Linked DNA regions of Homo sapiens: region 2 is linked to region 1. Evidence: promoter capture Hi-C in human tissues and cell types (Jung and others, 2019). All regions are on one chromosome and are shown on one strand. Each heading gives the region's core, a stretch centred on a gene start or on the middle of the fragment in contact. The rest is flanking DNA. Distances are from core to core; before and after follow the strand shown.

Region 1 (3,755 bases), core at 14-2,513:
GGGTAGAGAGGAGAGGAGACTCACCCGACACAAATCAGTGGAGCTGAGACCACAACTGGGCTTTCTCCCCCCACGGCCCTGCCCCCCACTGCCCTTATCCCCACTTCCTTGTATGAGGCTCTAGGGAGCACGGTCGCCGCTCACTGGCGGGCGATGACAGCGCGGGCCCCGGATGACCACTCGATCTTCTTGATTTCTGTAGCTAGGACCTTGGGGGTCTTGCGGGGTCTCTCACACACGGGGCTATCGAGCAGTGGACGCCAGGACCAGGCGGGCCCCAGCTTCCTCACCTGTAGCCCCGGAACCACCCCGGGTTGTTGAACCTGCCCGGCAGGTCCGCGCTCACGCGGTAGTAGTCGCTGGTCCTCTCCGGCGGGGCCGTGGCCTTGGGCGCCACAGGCTCCGCGCACGCTCTGGGGCATTCCTCAGCCATTGTGCCTGGAGGAGAAGCGGGACTCGGCGGCGTCCTGTTGCCAAGCGACGGCCAGGTCACGTGACTGGGGAGCGAGCGGAGGGGCCTTAAAGGCGCCGCGCGTGGGCCGGGTTCCTCTGCGGGTGGGTCCGGAACCTGCCGGGCGACTCCCCAAGGGCCGGGAAGGTCGGGACGGCGAGAGATTCCCTGCTGGGACCGTCGTGTGAGGCAGCCCCAGGCCCCCAGCCACCCGCGGGGGGACCGGGCCACCCCAGCATCAGGGCGTGGACTCCCGGGCGAAAGAAACCCCAGGGCCTGGGACCCCGCCAGCCGGGTGACGGGGTTTAAGCACTGCAGGTCCACTCGGCAGGCAACGATTGGACTTTTGCTGTCCAATGTACTCCAGGGATGCTATGCCCCCCAGCACCCCGAGTCTAAATTGAGACCCGAGATCTGGCTAACTTTATGAAATTCTCCTAAGCCAAATATCGTTTAAATATTACAAACAGTTTTGGAGAGCGAGAGGTTGCGCAGGACGTGGTTCACAGCTCACTTGGCGGGAGGCGAGGGTCCCCATCGCCCAGCGGGCTTCCCCAAGGGTCAGGGGCCTCCCGGGCTGGCCGGTCCCATTAGCAGGGCGGGGCGAGCTGCAGGGCGAGGACCGTGGCTCCACTCCCCGCCCGAGACTCTCAAGCCCAGGACCCCGGGCCCTGACCCCTCGCGTGCCCCGCCCCCGCAGGGAGGTCCCAGCCGCCTGGGGACAGCGCTGTGGCTCCTCCGGGCCTGTAGGCGGCACTGCGGCCCCGCGCGGATGGCGACGGAAGGGGAGGCCGCTCGGCCTGGCCTGGAGGGAGACCTCGCTCTGCCCCGCGTCCCAGCCATGGCGACATCCTCGGCCGCGCTGCCCCGAATACTCGGCGCGGGTGAGCGCGCGCTTGCGGGACCCTGGGGAGGAGCATGCGAGGAGGATGCGGAGGGGCGCGGGGACCCGATGGAGCGGCGGGGACGTGGAGGGGACCCGGGGCGAGCGCGGAGGGGACTCGGGGAGGGCGCGGGGACGCGGAGGGGACCCGTTAGGGACGCGGAGGGGCCCGTTGGGGATGCGGTGGGGAGCGGGCGTGGTGCATTCGGGACTCGGCGCCAGGACCTCTATCTACTTCCCCCCAGGTGCCCGGGCCCCGTCGCGCTGGTTGGGCTTTCTCGGGAAGGCGACCCCCCGGCCTGCTCGGCCGAGCCGCAGGACGCTTGGAAGCGCGACGGCCCTTATGATCCGCGAGTCGGAGGACAGCACCGGTAACACTGGGCGCCCAGCCGAGTTGGGTGGGAACGAGGAGAGGCCGGCAGCCGCGGGGGATGCGAACCCTAGAGGGGCCTGGGCGCTGCACGCGGTCGAAACTGCGCGCTCCGCTGGGCTCCTCCCACTCCCGTGCTCGCCGCCGCTCGGTCCTGCCTGACGTAGCACAGCGGGCTGAGGCCACCGCCTCACCATGGATAGGGTGAGAGGGAGCGGGCGGGCCAGTGGTTAGCACAGGCTTCGCTCCCTAGGGGGGTGTCACTGGACCACCGAGGCCCGGAGCCCCGAGCTCGCCCAGGCGGGCCCAAGTGACCTGGGGGCACTGGGCTTGGAGTCTGCCCACCTTGCTGGACTCCTGATGGGGACTTTCTGGCTGGCCACCTGAGACCACAAGGCGGGGAGGTGCCAGAAAGACCTGAGCAACCCGCTGGGCCCCTCTCTTTTTCTCCTCTGTCTTCCAAGTAAGACCAAGGGACGGGGTTGACCAGGTTCGACCAGGCTTACCCAGGAGCAAGGTCGGGATCAGAACCTGGCTCCAGCCCTCTGTTTCCTGAAAAGGTCCCTGTGCTTCCAGGTCTTTCCTGGGGCTGCTGGGCTCCCGGCTCCCCACCTCGGTGTCACAGAAGGCACTTGGGAGCAGGGGTGGGCGGGAACTGCGCTCTGCCTGTCTCTGCTGCCACCGGTGGGAGACGCAGCGTCGCTCCTCCTCCCTGCCGTAGATTTCAACGACAAGATTTTGAATGAGCCCCTCAAGCACTCTGACTTCTTCAATGTCAAGGAACTGTTTTCCGTGAGAAGCCTCTTCGATGCCCGAGTCCATCTGGGACACAAAGCTGGCTGTCGGCACAGGTAGGTGACACCCCCATCTGAGCCCGGGGCGGTTCCCAGGAGGAACCTGGGACCTGCTCTGGTTCTAGGGCCACTTTTGAACTGGCCTATGTCAGTTTTAGGTGATTACAGCCCCATCCTCCTCCACATGGGAATACAGAGCCCCACAGAGAAGCAGGAGTTTATTCCTCAGCTTGGCGGACGCTCTTGTGTGCCTTGGTGTGGCGCTCACAGCCCTTGATAGGGCAGGCCTGCTGGGGGTTGCAGGACTCCACGGGTTCAGAAATGGAAAGGCTGAGGGCAGAACCTGTAAGGTTGGTCCCCCCGGATCGGGCTGGGCCTTCTGGGCTGCGGGGAGGAGGAATGACTGGTCCTGTATTCTCACATGGTCATTTTGACTGCTGTGGGGGGAGGGGATGGGAGGGGCAGGTGGGAGGCCAGGGAGGAGGTTGGTGTGGGCGTTCAGGGTGAAGGTGGCGGGGCTTAAATCGCAGTAGCGGAAGAGCTGGAGCAGCAGGTGGACATGAGGCAGCAGGGCAGAGCCAGTGGGCCTTGGGCTGGGGTGGGAGGTGGCTGGGGCCGAAGGGATCAAACACCTGCTCTTCGGGTGGAGCCTGGTACTGGTTACTGAGATGGTGAAAACCAGGGGAGACCTGGGGGACATCACAAGCTTGGTTCCTACCAGGTATGAACCCTTTGCTGCCCCAGTGGAGAGGTCACACGGTTACCAGGAGGGATGGGCCTGGGCCCAGGGAGCCATCAGCATCGGGGGCTGGCAGGTGTTTCCAGAGCATCGGAAAAGGAGGTCCAAGGTGGAGCCCTGGGTGCTCCAGTGTTTGGAGTCAGTGAAGAGGGACAGCCGGGGGTAGGGGAGATGTGGTTCTCTGTTGATGCTGCTGAGAAGTGAATTCAAGGCTGTGACCTTGGCAAGATGGAGGTCGCCAGTGCCTTGATGGGCAGGGTTGCTTGAGAGGAAGGGACAGAACCCAGTGGGAGTAGACTGGAGGTGAGGACCTGGGAACCGCAAATGTGGATGACTCGCCTGTCACGCACCGAGAGGCGGGGGTGTCTCCCATGCCCCGCTTTTCTCAGCCCAGGCCAGCAGTGGTCCAGTGCTTTGGATCAGGGTTCCCCGCCCAGGCTTGGCCACTCCTGCCCTGATCCCTTAATGCTTTTGGCCCAGAGCACCCCGCTAAGTCCAACCCCAGAGGGGCCTCATCC
Region 2 (6,339 bases), core at 1,479-3,978, 400 kb before region 1:
AGATGTGCAGCCAGGTAGAGAGATGCCCACAGTTGACTCCATCTCAGTGCGATTCGACTGAAACGTTATATGCCGCCTTAATGAAGGTATACATGCATTTTAATTAGAAATCCAGCCCAGATGTAAATGAACAGGTCAAATTACACAGCCTCGCCCGACTAGAAACTGCTGGTGTACTCTGTCTCTGTCTTCCCGTCCTTTTTATGCTAATGTTTTTCTTCGATGTGCTCCCTGCATGAGGCAAGAACTAATTCTCTTTTAAAAATGATACATTAAATAGATGAAATGGCAAGCTAATGAAATTATAAATCTATATTATAAATAAAATAATAGCAGGCCCAATCCTGTTGAGGTGAAATGAGCCGATTGTGCTCATCAGAGGCAGTTGGACATTTTTGTCCTCGCATCTGGCTGGTCATCATGAATTACTCTGGAGGGAGAGATGTTGACCTGTCTAACCAAAAAAGCATTTATGTCTCTGAGCCAGCACTCCCTTCTCTGCGGCCAGCAGACTCCTCTAACGAGGGGGGTGTCTTCAGCAACTGGGAGGTAGCTCATCTTGGCAAACGTTGTTGACACAGGCATCTCTCCGAGTTTCCAATTTTGGGGTGCTGTGGCTCTGGGGGAAGAAAAGCAAGCGCTTGCCTATACTGTGCTAAACCGCATTAAAAAAATTCCAACAGAAATTGTGACGAGGGAATCTCAATAACTCTTAAAGCAGTTTGTTTTGACTAACTCGAGCATTACAGTGGGATTTTTCTAACTGACCATGCAAATATGTGTTTCCTGATGGCTGTCTGTTTCAGGCAGGCTAGTGAGCTAGTTCTTCAACGGTATTTCATTTTCTTACTTGCAGGGCTAACTTAAAAGAGTTTTTTCAATGCTGCAGTGACTGAAGAAGCAGTCCACTCCCATGTAACCATGAAAGAGAGCCAGAGAGCTTTTTGCACCATGCATTTTTACTATTATTTTCCAATACTTAGCACCATTTCACTAAGGAACCTTGAATACAACCAGGATCCTCCTTTGCATGCGACTGTAGCTGCATTTCATGAATAGTTTGAACCCTTGTCAATGCATTTTTTGAAAAAGAAAGAAAAAAAAAACTTCGTGTATGTGACTCAAAGCATGTAACCTTAAGATGTTGCATTCTAAACTGACAATAAAGACCTTTCCCAAATATGCTGGTGTTCTGAGGACTGTTTAATATGCTCTTCTAACTCATTTGGACCAGAACAAATAAGCCTGTAAATAAAGCGGGAATATACACACTTTCCCTCACCTAGGGAGAAGCCAGGCCAAGGCAGGGTGTGAGAGTTCTTGCATGCATCGCACTGAACCAGCTTATTTTAACCTTGCAGGCGATAAAAGCGAAAATGGATGAACTTAGGCCTTTGATACCTGTGTTGGAAGAGTACAAGGCCGATGCCAAATTGGTATTGCAGTTTAAAGAGGAGGTCCAGAATCTGACGTCAGTGCTTAACGAGCTGCAAGAGGAAATTGGCGCCTATGACTACGATGAACTTCAGAGCAGAGTGTCCAATCTTGAAGAAAGGCTCCGTGCATGCATGCAAAAACTAGGTAGGCCCAGTACCCTGCGGGACGTGGCGCTGCACTGCCCACCTCCGGCACACGCACAGGCTTAGGGAGTGGTGCTGAAGTGGACAGCGCCCGCCTGGCTTCGCGAGGTGATGGCTGGATTAGGGCTCCTGGGCAGGTCTACCTTGAGAGACAGCAAAGGAGGAGCGTAGGCCACACCCATCCTAGGGCATTGTTCAGAGCCGGGTCTTGTGCAGAGGCCACAGACCCCGCTGAGTCGCACATCTGGAAAAAAATAGCATACCATCTGGCAGATTGTGTGTGTGTGTGTGAATCGTATGTGTGTGTGCATTGAAGACACCAGTTTAATAGGGCTGGCAATAACATCTCAGATTCCTCCGGATTGAGAACGGGGGCTGGTGGAGCTCCTGAAATATTGAATCATGCATAGTTTGAATAAAAAAGGGAACAAAATTCAATCACATCTCAGTAGAGCTGCCATTCACAGCACGGGAGGGAGCCCCTGCTCACAGCCTGGAAGGGGAGGAGCCTCTGAGCAAATGAACCCCTTCCTCGGGTGTGTTTCCTAAGAAAGACCCCCAGTGTGGGGTGACCCATTTGGATTCTTATTTCTGATTGATTACCCATTCACCTTATCAACTTTCCAGTTAATTACTAGGAGAAATATTAACACATTAGTGTCTGAGTCTGCTTTTAAATAGCACATTTCAAATCCCAATTCCACTTTTAATTTTTCTTAAGAAATATTAGCCATCCGTCCTCACCAAGCTGTTTTTGTTTTTTGTTTTTTGTTTAATAACACAAAGGTTGTTGTTTTCATACTACCTACTTTTTAGGGTAACTTAGGGTAATTTTAGGGTGATTTTGCCTTATGAAGTTTATCTCAGGCTTTCTCTGATGTTCTAACTGGATTACCTTTTTATTTCTACTCTCCCTTCCACACACACACACTCCAAGTGCCTTACTATAAACCTAAAACATCCAAAAAGAACACTTTAAAAAAAAACCTCTAATGTTAGTCAGGTGAAGAGAGAGAATATTCAAGGGGAAAGAAAAGAGTCAGCCAAACCCTTGGTTTCCCAGGTTCCCAATTTAGGTGATTTTTAAACGCTCTTCTAGGTGTCCTCAGTGAACGCACAAAGCTTTAAATTCCCCAGTCCCGAAACAGAGACAATAAGAAATGCTTGGAGTCAGAGAACTAATCCATTTTGATGTGTGCATGCTGGCTGTGTCTCACGGGGGCTGCTAACTGCATTCTTTCAGCTCTGTGCTCCATGGTGCCCAGCCCTGGTATGACAGTGGCTGGGTGATCTCAGACAGTCCCAGGAGGGGGGTCTGGGCCAGATGGCCTCTACCATGGCTTCCCAATTTGACTTTCTAGGAGTTGGTGTGAGTGTTTGACTTTCTAGGAGTTGGTGTGAATGTTAATGATGATAGGGCTGTATTAACGATCATGGGGCTATATAACTATTGCCCTTGGGTACTGTCTTCGGCTTGCTACCCATCGTGACCTTGAGTGACCTCACCATTGCCCCTCTCTCCAGGACCTCCAAACACTCCCACTTATGGGGTCTCCCTCGGCCTCCGAAGAATCCAGTGGTGGGGTCTTTTTGTTGTTGTTATGTATTTCCCCATGAGCAGTGTCTTCCCTCCCTGGAATAGACAGGGCACATCATGGAGAAACCCAGAGAAAACCTCCACATTTTCCAATCAAGGAATCAAGGGAGCAAAGTGAGGATTTGGAGTAAAAAGTTGCAAATAGTGAGAAGCCAAGGGCCTTTCTGAGGGGGCACCACCCCTCCCGGATGAGCTGGCCTTCCCATCTGTGCTTGGCCTATTTTTAGTAGCTGGGTGAGTTTACCTTGCAGCTTAAAATCTTGGGTCTTGTGAAAGAGATCACATGGCCGTCCTTGGGCTGCTAACACCATTGATTTGGGAGTAAAGAGAGAGGGTTAACAGGCCTCCAGAGGCCCTCTTTCTCCCACCTTTGGAGTGCAGCTGCCTGGTTTCACCTCTGCGTTTAATTCTTTCTTTGGAAGGGCTGCGACACGTAGGCGGAGCTGCTGAATCAGAGCGTCTGCAGGTGGGGCCCTGGCATCTGCCCGTAGCCAGCACCCAGCTAATCTTGACACACAGCAAACTGAGCTCCCCCGTTAGAGGAGGCAGTTTTGTAAGGTAGTAAATGCCACTCGATAGCTGTGCGACTCCCCCAAGGCATTTCCCCTCTCGAGTTTCAGCTGCCTCCTCCTCTGTAAAATGGTGCAGGGAGTCCCTGAGCTCTGGGGTAATTCATGGAATGGTAATTCATGGAAGTCCTTCAGATCCTGAGCTCAGCACTGTGCCCAGCAGAGGAGGTGCTGGTAGGCAGGTAGGTCGATGGATAGAGAGGTGATGACAGCTGACTGATAACTGGATAGGTAGTTAGATAGATAAATGATTGATTGATTGATTGATTGATTGATAGATGATTGACACATAGATAGAGTTAGCAGCTGCTGACCTTCCTCCTCCCTCTTCCCAGGCTTTCATTCAAGCTCAGTAACTTAAGCACCAAATTAATATCCTGCAGCTGCTTAATTTAGCTTCATTTTAGCCTTGCAAATAGGTACCCATCTCAGGACCACCCTGGCAGCCTGTTCCCTTGCTGGGAGGTTGCTGAGGAGCCCGGCCTTCTGCAAGGTGGAGCCGGCACCCGCTGCCGGCCGTCCTGGGTGGTGAGGGCTTCTGTGAGACGTGGCCTCCAGTAGTGGGCAGTTTCCTCCCCTGTCCCGGACCCCGCAGTTTCTTGGTGTGCCTGCTGTTCCTGCTGGTGTGAAGTGTGACTGCAGGTTCCATGGTCTAGTGAACAGGGTCCGGGTTCCCTTCCTGCAGTAAGCCTGGAGGAGAGGCTCTCCCAAAGTCTTCCTGATAGTTCTCTCCTTGCTGCTACCTTCTTCAAGTCACTGTTGCTGACAAGCCCAGAACATACTCAGAAACAGAGAAAACAAGGACCAGGGCTCCATCAGTTTTCAGTTTCCAATTCTGAAGATCCCTCTTTTGATGGCATTATATGATTTTCCTAATGGCCCAGCCAGAAACTTGAATCTGAACCTCTCCTCTCGGGCATCCTCTGGAAAGGAGGCAGTTTGCCGGTTCCCCTGGAGCAAGTCTTGTTGCCAGGCAAGGGGAGAGTCAGTGCTGCCCCGTGCCCCTGGCCTCGTCCCCTGAGCTGGGCGTGGGGCCCTCTCTCCAGGGGAGCCTGCAGAGTCAGATGCCCCAGCAGCAAAGCTGAGCGAAGCCAGAAGCGTGAGGGTCAGTGCACGATGCTGCTCTACCCATGGAGCTCCCGGGGCGTGGCATGTGCCTGTCAGCTTCAGGCCTCCGTGGTCCTCTCTATAAATGAGGGGTGAGGGGGCCAGCTGATTTGAAGGGCTCCTCCCAGATATACCATCCTGGCACTCTGGTGCTAAAGGCTTCCTTAGTTTCTTTTTTTTCCCAAAGCCTGGGAAGCCCCCAGACACCCATAAGCACAGACAGAGCCTGGGCTTCAGGGTCAGTCGGGTCTTTTTGTTTCACTGGAACGCGTCTTAACAAAGCCCGCTGGCTCCAGCTTCAGAGTCCCCTGTCAGCCGCTGGGAGCTGGGCCTGCCTGGGTATCTAGGTTGATGCAAGTCCAGTTGCAGGCCCCCGTCCCAGCTCGGGATGGCAGGGCATAGTGCTTGGCTCTGGCACCATGCCCTACACTCTGTCCTGGGGGAGACAAACCTGAAGCCTCCCTCTTGTTCCCTGACCCTGAGATGTGAGAAAGGGTCAGCCAGGCAGAGAGAGGGTCTGTCTTCTCCTGCCCCCGGCCCTGAGTGGAGCTAGACAGTGAGCCACTGTCACCAGCACACATGGTGCGTTCAAGGATAGAGAGTTAAGCCCTTGCCAGTGGATTCTGAAGGAAAACCCACTAGAGTGACAGGGGAGGAAATAAACCAAAATCTAAAAAGCCGCTCAGAAGCACTGACTGAGTGGGGCCCGGGCGGCCAGGGCTTCTCCCAGGAAGTTCTCCAGATGACAGGCGGTGAGAGTCTCCTGGAGGCCCGCCCTTCCTGCCATGCGAGGAAGAGGGTCTGCCGTGACCCTTTCCTCAGTGGCCGCCCCAGCCCAGGCCCTGGGTCTGATCTCGAGGCCTGGCGGGGATGCAGCATGGTTCTCAGCTTCTTTCATCTGCATTTTGGACATCGGTTTGTCCAAGTTCCCAGCTTTGCAGACTTCTTCCAGCTTAAGTCTTCCCGGATTGCAGGAGGTAAAAGCTGTGACCAAGGGAGATAGGCTCAGAGGACAGGCAGCAGGACAGGAACCCCATCTGCCTGCTTCAGGGCACTCAGCCCTCCTGGTCTGTCTCCTTTGTTGCCCAGAGACCCCTCTGTCTCTGGCCTGAGGTCCTCAGTGGGCATCTCCCCGGGCCTGTTCTATGAGATCGTCCATGCTGCTGCGTAGAAGTGGCCTCCTCTTGTGAATAGCAAGAGGCAGATTGTCTCATCCGCAGGGGCATCAGCTTGTCCAGGCTCCCGGCCTTGCACAGCGCTCTGCCCTCTGAGCCCGTCTGGGGCCGTCGGGGGGCCTCTGCCCCTCCAGCTGAGCATGCTGGCCCTCCAAGCCCAGGCCTTCCTAGGAGAGAGAGCCCGTTTGGGCCATTTCCTGAGCCTCCAACAGTGCAGGAAGCCCGGCCAGCCCTCTCCTGCCTCTCCCCTCCTCTTCCCTCCTTGTGTGTGCATCCTGAGTGCTCGTGACTGGAGAGGGACGCTTTCCTGA

Evidence for each region. Contacts are between HindIII fragments. The study calls those that stand out against the background at their distance.
Region 2: a fragment that was not itself captured here is called in contact with the fragment with the promoter of MRPS2 in region 1 in 1 of the 25 tissues and cell types used here (H1 embryonic stem cells).

The regions. Positions count from the first base shown.
Region 1 is chr9:135,499,419-135,503,173 of GRCh38, forward strand. It overlaps MRPS2 (mitochondrial ribosomal protein S2), which reads left to right and starts at 1,264. Exons shown (of 4, transcript NM_016034.5): 1 at 1,264-1,335; 2 at 1,580-1,705; 3 at 2,426-2,555. The coding sequence starts at 1,293. It overlaps PIERCE1 (piercer of microtubule wall 1), which reads right to left and starts at 451. Exons shown (of 3, transcript NM_001048265.2): 1 at 291-451. The coding sequence starts at 433. RefSeq lists silencers at 554-723, 994-1,163, 1,374-1,533 and an enhancer at 1,489-2,113. The HindIII fragment of the contact is 18,925 bases long and covers 1-3,755 here.
Region 2 is chr9:135,096,925-135,103,263 of GRCh38, forward strand. It overlaps OLFM1 (olfactomedin 1), which reads left to right. Exons shown (of 6, transcript NM_001282611.2): 4 at 1,362-1,581. Among named protein-coding and RNA genes, the nearest start is that of OLFM1, 12 kb to the left of the region's middle. RefSeq lists an enhancer at 1,205-1,706. The HindIII fragment of the contact is 4,387 bases long and covers 536-4,922 here.